Regions from separate parts of the Homo sapiens genome. Here all the other regions are linked to region 1. Evidence: promoter capture Hi-C in human tissues and cell types (Jung and others, 2019). All regions are on one chromosome and are shown on one strand. Each heading gives the region's core, a stretch centred on a gene start or on the middle of the fragment in contact. The rest is flanking DNA. Distances are from core to core; before and after follow the strand shown. Region 1 holds the start of FOXB2 (forkhead box B2). Region 2 overlaps PRUNE2 (prune homolog 2 with BCH domain). Region 3 has its middle 46 kb from the start of VPS13A.

Region 1 (3,014 bases), core at 285-2,784:
GCAATAAAACTGAGATGAATTTGGCATTTGGTGAAAACACCCCATGCTTTCTTCCCCATGAGTTTTTCCCTCCAGCCCTCTAATCATCGGGGTTTCTTGCAGAGAAGAGGCCTTGAGGACACGATACTCTGAACTTGACCCAGAGTGTCTAGCCCAGGAAAAAGGGTTTGTAAGGAGAGAGAAGCTCACAGCGAGTAGATGAAAACAGGGAAGGGTAAAAGGAAGGGGGCGGAAGAGGGAGATGCCAGAGAGAAGAGAAGCAAGAAGGCAGTGTCCTGTTCCCCCTCCACCGTGCTTGGTGGCCCGGGTGGGGCGCAGCTGCGGGAAATGCACCCGGAGCTGTGCCCCCTCCCGGCGAACAGCCTGCGCCACCCGCCGCACCGGGAGGTGGCTGGGGGCTGCCGAGCGAGTGGTGAACGCGATGGGTGGAGAGCGCCCGAAACGAGGTGGAAAAGGGGGCGGGGGCGAGGCACGGCGCCTTCTTGCCCCTTCTTCAGCTACAGACGCGGCGGCGGCGGCTGAGTCCCTCAGCCTCGGTCATGTGATAGTCTCGAAGCGCTAGCTGCGGGGGTCTCGGCGTCTCGGGGACCATTACAAAACGCAGCCAGGAGAGCGCGTCGCTGCCACTGCCGTCGCCTCTCCTCCTCAAGACAAGCCCGGGAGAAAGGCGGCAGCTGCGGCGCGGACGGCTGAGCCTCCCCGGCCAGCACTCACCCAGCATTCGCAGACGCCCTCTCCAGCCCGCCGCTCGCTCCCAGAGTCCTGCGCCCCACACTCCTCAGCAGAACCTGCGGGCGCTGCCGCTTCAGAAACCACCAAAGTTTTTTCTCCTCAGCGACAGCCTAGGGCTGCGCGTCTCTTCTAACCCCGGCGACGCTGCGAGCCTCGGAGAAAAGAGAGGCGCCCTAGAAGCCAATCTTCTCTCTCCTTACCCTGATTTTTCACTCCAGGAAAAGGAGAACTCCAGCGCGGTCTGGCTAAGTGCCTGGCCAGGGGCCTGCGTCCAGGGCACTGGAAGTCCTGCTGTCACTGGCCTCCAGGACAGCAGGCGCAAACTCAGATTTAAAGGGCCAGAGTCTCTACTGCCCAGACCTTCCTCCCAGCCATCTTGGTCTGGGTTTCCCTCGGACCTAGAAAAAGCAAAGAGGCCGGGAGGAAACACGGCCCCTTGCCACTCTCCTCTGCAGCCAGCTCCAGCACTCAGTCTTTGGCCACCCGGGGGAAGACGCAGAGAAGGCGGCGGTAAACCTGGTGCACTCCGCCCGCGACTGTGCGCGCCAGTCGGCAACCGTCGGGGCCAGAAGTTGCCAGCTTCCGAGAGCTGAGTAGGCCCGAAAGGCCAAGGTCGGAGACACCAGGCAATTCGGAGAAGGCAGGAGAGAGAAGCAGAGAGGGCCTGGAGGGCGAGAGGGCAAAGTGGCGGGACTGGAGGGGCCGAGTGGGAATTAGTGGGGGCAGCCAGGCCCCAGGAACGGAGTGCGGAGAGATTCTGTGGTCCAGTGCGGGCCGGAGGGCGGTGGAGGAGCCGGGGGCGATGCCGCGGCCGGGGAAGAGCTCGTACAGCGACCAAAAACCGCCCTACTCTTACATCTCGCTGACCGCCATGGCAATCCAGCACTCGGCCGAGAAGATGCTGCCGCTGAGCGACATCTACAAGTTCATCATGGAGCGCTTCCCCTACTACCGCGAGCACACACAGCGCTGGCAGAACAGCCTGCGCCACAACCTCTCCTTCAACGACTGCTTCATCAAGATTCCGCGGAGGCCCGACCAGCCTGGCAAGGGTAGCTTCTGGGCGCTGCACCCCGACTGCGGGGACATGTTCGAGAACGGCAGCTTCCTGCGGCGTCGCAAGCGCTTCAAGGTGCTGCGCGCCGACCATACTCACTTGCACGCGGGAAGCACCAAGAGCGCGCCGGGCGCCGGTCCGGGAGGGCACCTTCACCCCCATCACCACCACCACCCCCACCACCACCATCATCACCACGCTGCCGCACACCACCACCATCACCACCACCCACCCCAGCCGCCGCCGCCGCCGCCCCCGCCGCCGCCGCACATGGTACACTATTTCCATCAGCAACCGCCTACTGCTCCGCAGCCGCCTCCGCACCTCCCGTCACAGCCCCCGCAGCAACCGCCCCAGCAGTCGCAGCCTCAGCAGCCGTCTCACCCCGGCAAGATGCAGGAGGCGGCGGCCGTGGCGGCGGCGGCGGCGGCGGCCGCGGCAGCCGCGGTGGGCAGCGTGGGACGCCTGTCTCAGTTCCCACCCTACGGGCTGGGCTCGGCCGCCGCCGCTGCCGCCGCGGCCGCGGCGTCCACGTCAGGCTTCAAGCACCCCTTTGCCATTGAGAACATTATTGGCCGGGACTACAAGGGCGTGCTGCAGGCTGGAGGGCTGCCCTTGGCGTCCGTCATGCACCACCTGGGCTACCCCGTGCCCGGCCAGCTTGGCAACGTCGTCAGCTCCGTGTGGCCGCACGTTGGCGTCATGGATTCGGTGGCCGCCGCCGCGGCCGCCGCAGCCGCAGCCGGAGTCCCTGTAGGCCCGGAGTATGGGGCCTTCGGGGTCCCGGTCAAGTCCCTGTGCCACTCGGCAAGCCAGAGCCTGCCTGCCATGCCGGTGCCCATCAAGCCCACGCCTGCGCTGCCGCCCGTGTCCGCGCTGCAGCCGGGGCTCACTGTCCCCGCGGCTTCGCAGCAGCCTCCGGCGCCATCCACCGTGTGCTCCGCGGCCGCGGCCTCGCCCGTTGCCTCTCTGCTGGAGCCCACAGCCCCTACCTCGGCCGAAAGCAAGGGCGGCTCCTTGCACTCGGTGCTAGTGCACTCCTAGGGGACCCGGCGGGCGTGGGGAGACCAGCGGGGTGAGAGACGCCGGGCCCGGAACCGCCCAAACCACCCGACGGGGAGAGGGCGCCCTGGTCAGGCCGGGCAGAGCTGGCGAGTCTCAGCCTTTGCTGGAACGGAAGGTATTTAAATAGACGAACAACCCCGAAAAGTGGATTCTCCAGTGG
Region 2 (3,014 bases), core at 384-2,883, 120 kb before region 1:
TCTCTTAGAGCTAAGACAGATATTCCACAAATTCTAACTGAATTGCAAGACAGCTAAGAATTGTTCCTGTTTCTGTGAAATGTAAATAGGGCTTCCTGGCTCTTGTTTGCTAGTGGCCTTTTCATGTTTTTATTACTGTGCCTGGAGATCACGTCCTCGTCTCAGGGCATACACACATGCAGCAGCCCTGTGAGGCCAGTGCTACTACTGTTCTCATTTACAGATGATGAAACTGAGACCCGGGGAGGCTAAGAAACTAAGATTGTGTGACTAGCAAGTAAAAGTGGCGGGGTTAGGATTTGAAATCAGGCACTGGCTCCACATGATTAGCCGCCCGGCTGTACTGCCTTTAGGGGGCAAGAAGTGGGAAGGAGGACAAAAGTCCTTCTAAGGGTCTCCTAAATCCACAACTCATACTCTAGGAAAATCTCCCAGGATCTGATTTAGGGCAGGCAGCCTCTGCCAGGGACTGCCTCACAGTTCCCCATTTATGGGCTCAGATATAAGGAAGTGTGGCTATTGCTGCTCTCAGGGAGGTCAGCAATCATCAAGGATGGGAACACAGACAATCTTTGGACTGTGTTGATGTTTCCTTTCAGCTACTTATTCTGAAGTCCCACACTATATTCTCCATTACTACAAAAAGCTAATTCTCAAATTTGAGTAGATGAACCCTGAATTAGGCCAGACTGGTCACCAATATATACTCAAGATCATATATATTATTATAAGATGTATTTATTTATTCTTGACAGTAACCAAAAGGATAACCTACTTATAATAAAAGTGCATATACATTAAAGTAAAAAAATTAAAACAACTATAATGAGATTAAAACTAAGTAGTAACAATTAAAAAAACAAAACAAAAAAAACCTTAGTTCGGAAATCCTAGGCTAAGAAAATGAAGCACCAACATAGCTTTAAGCTTCTGGGAAGCCAAAGCAAGAAATATCAAATGCATGGAGCCAAAGATATGCAATTTTCCTAGACATCATCAGTTCAAAAAGACTCTGGCATTACAGGCTAAAACAAATAACCTGGGAAGGTCTGGTCACATCCAGGAGAGTTAGATGAAGTGGAAGACCATGATCACGCTCCACCACAAACAGTCCCACTAGTTGGACGAGAGGTCTGACTCAGGATCATGCATGGGTTTACCCCACACATGAGGTCTGCAGTGCCAGGGCTGGACAGGAAGTCTGGAATGCCTAATCTTTTCTCTCAAGGACTCTGAACAGCTTCCCTGCCAATCTCTCTCATGATATTAGCACTGGTCAAGGGGCAGCAAGAGACTAGGCTGGGCTGACTTGGTACAGTGGTTGGCCTTGGGGGAGCCCAACTTCTAGTCTTTGAGCCACATGGAGGAGAACCTACGGTTCCAATGGTTCCACTGTTGGCTGATCTACCCAATGCAGTTTTGCAGAGGCTTTTAGTGCCCCATTCCTCTCCTCTGCCTCTCTCCATTCATGCTTTAGTTCAACCAATATTTATAGATCCCAAGCAGTCATGCATAAAAATTAGATTTTTATTTTGTCTTAACACTTTGTATTAAGTACTTACTGTGTATGAAGTACAATATGGTGCTCCTTGACTTTAGTGTCCTTCACCTTCTTCTAGCAAACAAATATGGCTTCCTGCCTCCTGACAATAGCCTTTCTTCAGATTCAGACCTCCAAAAATCTAAACCTGGCCCTCCGTTTATTTATTTTTATTGAGCCACTACAAAGTGTCATGCTTTGTGCAGGACTCTTGCCTTTAGGGTTTATTAATTCTAAAACCACTCTTTGAGCATCAGGTACTGCACCAGAACCGGGAGATACAATGGTGAGCAAAATGATACAGACCCTGGTCCCTACTCTCACCAAACTGGCATTAATCGAACAAACATGCCCAATAGAGATATAATGACAAGCGGAAATAAGTGATCTAAAGAATTACCAAAATACCTGACTTAGACTCAAGAAGCAGGTGAGGGGGCTCACTTAGAAGAGTCTTTTCTTTGTCTAACCTAAGAGGCAGGAATTATTTAAGCCAAGGAGAGCTGGAGGAAAAGCCAGAAAGAAGCTGGATAGCAGATCAGGTCATACGAAAAGTGTGTCCATTCTCCTAAGAACAATGGAAAGTGATGAGGAGGTTTTAAGGGAGGGGTAGGAAAGGTGTGAAAGATGCTCTCAAAATGATCTCCCTGGAAGCAGGGTGAAAGCAGTTTGCCAGCCATTGTGGTCATCTGGGTGACTTAAGGATAGGGTGGGTTAGGGAAGAGATGAAGGAAAAGGAAGTTTTCAGCTGGAGAAACTGGATGAATCACAATGCCATTCACTAAGACAAGGAAGTACAGAAGAGGACGGGCTTGGAGGCAAGTGGAAAGACCCACCATTGTTCCAGGTTCTGTGCTAAGGGCTATGAATACATCATTTTGGCTTTGCAACAAACATGCAAAGTAGGCATCACTTATTCCATTTTTCAGATTAAGAAACCAAAGCTGTGTTTATCAGCTTGATTATTCTAACCCAAACTTTGTGGGTCTGATTTTCCAGGGTGATCTAGAGCCCACTAGTCTCATAAGAGCTCTGAAGAAGAAAGACTTCCTTTCCCTGGAAACCAAAGTCCAAAGCCACAGGGCTCAGAAAGAAATGGATTTGGGACAACGCTAGAGATTTTGAGTACGCTAATTTGAGACCCCTAACAGGGTAGCCACGAATGACTGTGCAGGTTGTGTACTATACAAACTCAGAGGGCACTGTTCATATCACCGTCCATAGGAATGCTGCCTCCTGAATACATCAGCCCTCCCCAGTTTCCTTTCAAGAAGACTTCAAACTCCAGGACTCTCCCATAATCCCCAAGGTTCAAGAAAAATCAGTAACTAACGTTGCATCCCCTCTCTCTGGTCCCCTGATATTGTTTCCTCTTTTGCAGCCTTTATCCAGATCCAAGTATTCTTCCCTCATTCTTCTCACTGCTCAGGTAACATTCACGGAGGGGTAGGTTCCCTCTACCCCCTCCCTGGAG
Region 3 (3,014 bases), core at 191-2,690, 110 kb after region 1:
GGATTACAGGTATGAGCCACCACACCCAGCAAGTTTCTCATTTTCATCCGAGACCTCCTCAGCCTGAACTTCACTATCCATATTACTATCAGCATTTTGGTCACAATCATTTAACCAGTCTCTAGGAAGTTCCAAACTTTCCCTCATCTTCCTGTCTTCTTCTGAGCCCTCAAACACTTCCAACCTCTACCCATTACCCAGTTCCAAAGCTGCTTCCAAATTTTCAGGTATCTTTATGGCAATACCCCACTCTCAGTATCAATTTTCTGTATTAGGCTGTTCCTGCATTGCTATAAAGACATACCTGAGACCAGGTAGTTTATTTTTAAAAAGAGGTTTAATTGGCTCATTGTTCTGCAAGTTTTACAGGAAGCATGAGGCTGACATCTGTTCAGCTTCTCGGGAGGCCTCAAGAAGCTTATAAAAATGGCAGAAGGCAAAGGGGAGCAGGCATGTCACATGGCAGAAGAAGGAGCAAGAGAGAGACAGTAAAGGAAGAGATGCCACACACTTTTAAACAACCAGATCTTTCAAGATTTCACTCACTATCATGAGAACAGCACTAGGGAAATGGTGCTACACCATTCATGAAGGTTCTGCCCCCATGATCCAATCACCTCCCACCAGGCTTCACCTCCAACACTGGGGACTACATTTCAACATGAGATTTGGGTGGGGACAAATATCCAAATTGTATCAGATTTTTCCAGTTTTAAATAGTTAAATGAATCAAAAGAAAAGTAATACTCATGACACATAAAATATTTAAAAATTCAAATTTCAGTATCCATATATAAAGCTTTGCTGGGACACAGCCACACTCATTCAATTATACATAGTCTATGGCTTCTTTTGCACAATGCCAGAGTAGAGTAAGTAAAGTACTTTTAACAGAAACCATCTGGGCTGCAAAGCCTTAAATAATTTACTATCTGGCTCTTTACAGAAAAAGTTACTGATCCCTGGGTTCGACTCTGTGCTAAGGACAATGTATATGTTATTAAATTTAAGCAGCTATAGTTGCAAAACATTTTAGTAATTTAATTTATTCCTCACCATTGTTTAGTCCTTTGTATATTTTCACATCATTTAAAAAAGTTTCTTCCTCCCAAAGAAACATATCACCAATGTGAATAACTTAAAATTTGTCATTACTAGAATAATAGTGCAAAGATAAGTTAAGTGCTGTCTTCCTCTTATTTCTTGTCTTTTAAAAGATGTCCCTTCCTTTCTTTCTACCTCTTTATAAATTGTATAAAATTTTCCTCTATAATAGTTGGAAAATTCCACAACTCTTAGAAATGAATCAAAAATACTAACTTCTTCTCAGGCAGTGCCAAGAGTTCTGTAATATATATACTTTCCCAAACAAGACTGGCAAACTTGGCCACTGAAGCAGCTGTAAAAATGGAAATGCAATCACAGAAGGAGTTATCAGCCTGATGAATTGAGGCGTCTTGACACTACTTGACATTCATTCTCAATTACCAAGTTCAGGCTTCTTGCCTTCATTGAGCAGCACTACAGAGCACCTCACATAAATAAGTGGATTCTGGGCAGCCACGATGGTGTAAGTAGCATGCTTCACTTCTTCAAAGGACTTGGGTCAGCCGACGAAGCACTAAGCATTAAATTATTTCTGACAGCAGCCACAGGCTATTAGAATGTAACCCCCCTCTCTCTTTCAGATGTTTATCTTTGAAGAATCTACTCACATTTTTATTGCAGTCATAAAGTCTGTTGTAATGATAAAAATAAAAAAGACATCTAACGTGTACCTACACACTGGAGCAGAGCTCTGGATATATTAATTGGTTTCTCTTACTCTTTCTTCAATCTGAGTAATAAGGTAAGACTTATGGAAAGTTCAAAATGGAGAAAACTTGCTGTGGAGTCAGTAGGATAAGAGTCCGGGATGTAGAAGATATTTTGTTTTCCCAAGAACATAGGTGGAAATGAATAAGGAAAGCCGAGTTTTGTCCAGACAGGTATGTTTTTGTTGCAGTGTTTATAGAAACATCATGAATTATGAGATATGAAAATATCTATAGCTTCCTTGAAATTTCACATTTCATAAAATTGTACAATGTTAGAACCCAAAAAAATTCATGTTTTATACATTCACGTCTTTATTGTGTGTCTAACACGTTTCAGACATTGTGCTAAACAGATACGTGTATGATTACCAGTTACGTTCAATGCTATTAAGGAAAGAGCAAAGTACTTTGACAGAGTCTAGCAGGAACAATGTATGTTAGGCTTGGGAATAGGTAAAGGTCAGGCAAGGTTTCTCTGAGGGAAGGACATTTAAGCTGAGTTGTGAAAGGAAGAAAATATGCCAGGCAGGAAAAATGTTCTATGACCAATGGCCAGTGGTGTGTGGTCCTTTCAAGTGAGTGAATAGGCCACTGAGGTTTGGAGATATATTCCATAAGTGTTGATCCCATCAACATGAATAACAAGATTTTTCCACCTGCCTGGCAGATTTACTGATTGAAATTGAGATTTTTGTTTGGTGGAAAGAAATGTGTTAAGAGCTCAATTATTTAATCCGTAACACGCATTGTTTACTAAATCATATGGTTAGTAGGAAAATTAAAGTTCTGGAAAATGTCTGTGATATGGTTTGGCTCTGTGTCCCCACCCAAATCTCATCTTGAATTGTAATCCCCACATGTTAAAGAGGGACCTGGTGGGAAGTGATTGGATCATGGGGCAGTTTCCACATGCTGTTCTCATGATAGTGAGTGGGTTCTCATGAGATCTGATGGTTTAAAAGTGTAACACTTCCTCCCTCGCTCTCTCTCTCTCCTGCCACTTTGTGAAGAAGGTGTCTGCTTCCCTTTCACCTTCCACCATAATTGTAAGTTTCCTGAGGCTTTCCCAGCCATGTGGAACTGTGAGTCAATCAAACTTCTTTTCTTTATAAATTACCCAGTCTCAGGTATTTCTTTATAGCAGTGTGGAAACAAACTGATATAATCTGACATGGAATCAACTAAATGTATTCAATA

What was found. The method cuts DNA at HindIII sites, captures the fragments that hold promoters and counts their contacts. A contact is called where the count stands out against the background at its distance.
Region 2: a fragment that was not itself captured here is called in contact with the fragment with the promoter of FOXB2 in region 1 in 8 of the 25 tissues and cell types used here (bladder, dorsolateral prefrontal cortex, lymphoblastoid cells and 5 more).
Region 3: a fragment that was not itself captured here is called in contact with the fragment with the promoter of FOXB2 in region 1 in 9 of the 25 tissues and cell types used here (H1 embryonic stem cells, adrenal gland, bladder and 6 more).

The regions. Positions count from the first base shown.
Region 1 is chr9:77,018,121-77,021,134 of GRCh38, forward strand. FOXB2 (forkhead box B2) reads left to right here and starts at 1,535. Exons shown (of 1, transcript NM_001013735.1): 1 at 1,535-2,833. The coding sequence starts at 1,535. The coding sequence ends at 2,833. The HindIII fragment of the contact is 6,747 bases long and covers 1-3,014 here.
Region 2 is chr9:76,897,823-76,900,836 of GRCh38, forward strand. The region is part of intron 1 of PRUNE2 (prune homolog 2 with BCH domain); the gene reads right to left. Among named protein-coding and RNA genes, the nearest start is that of PRUNE2, 6.8 kb to the right of the region's middle. RefSeq lists an enhancer at 229-728. The HindIII fragment of the contact is 7,777 bases long and covers 1-3,014 here.
Region 3 is chr9:77,129,971-77,132,984 of GRCh38, forward strand. No RefSeq gene overlaps it. Among named protein-coding and RNA genes, the nearest start is that of VPS13A, 46 kb to the right of the region's middle. The HindIII fragment of the contact is 3,942 bases long and covers 1-3,014 here.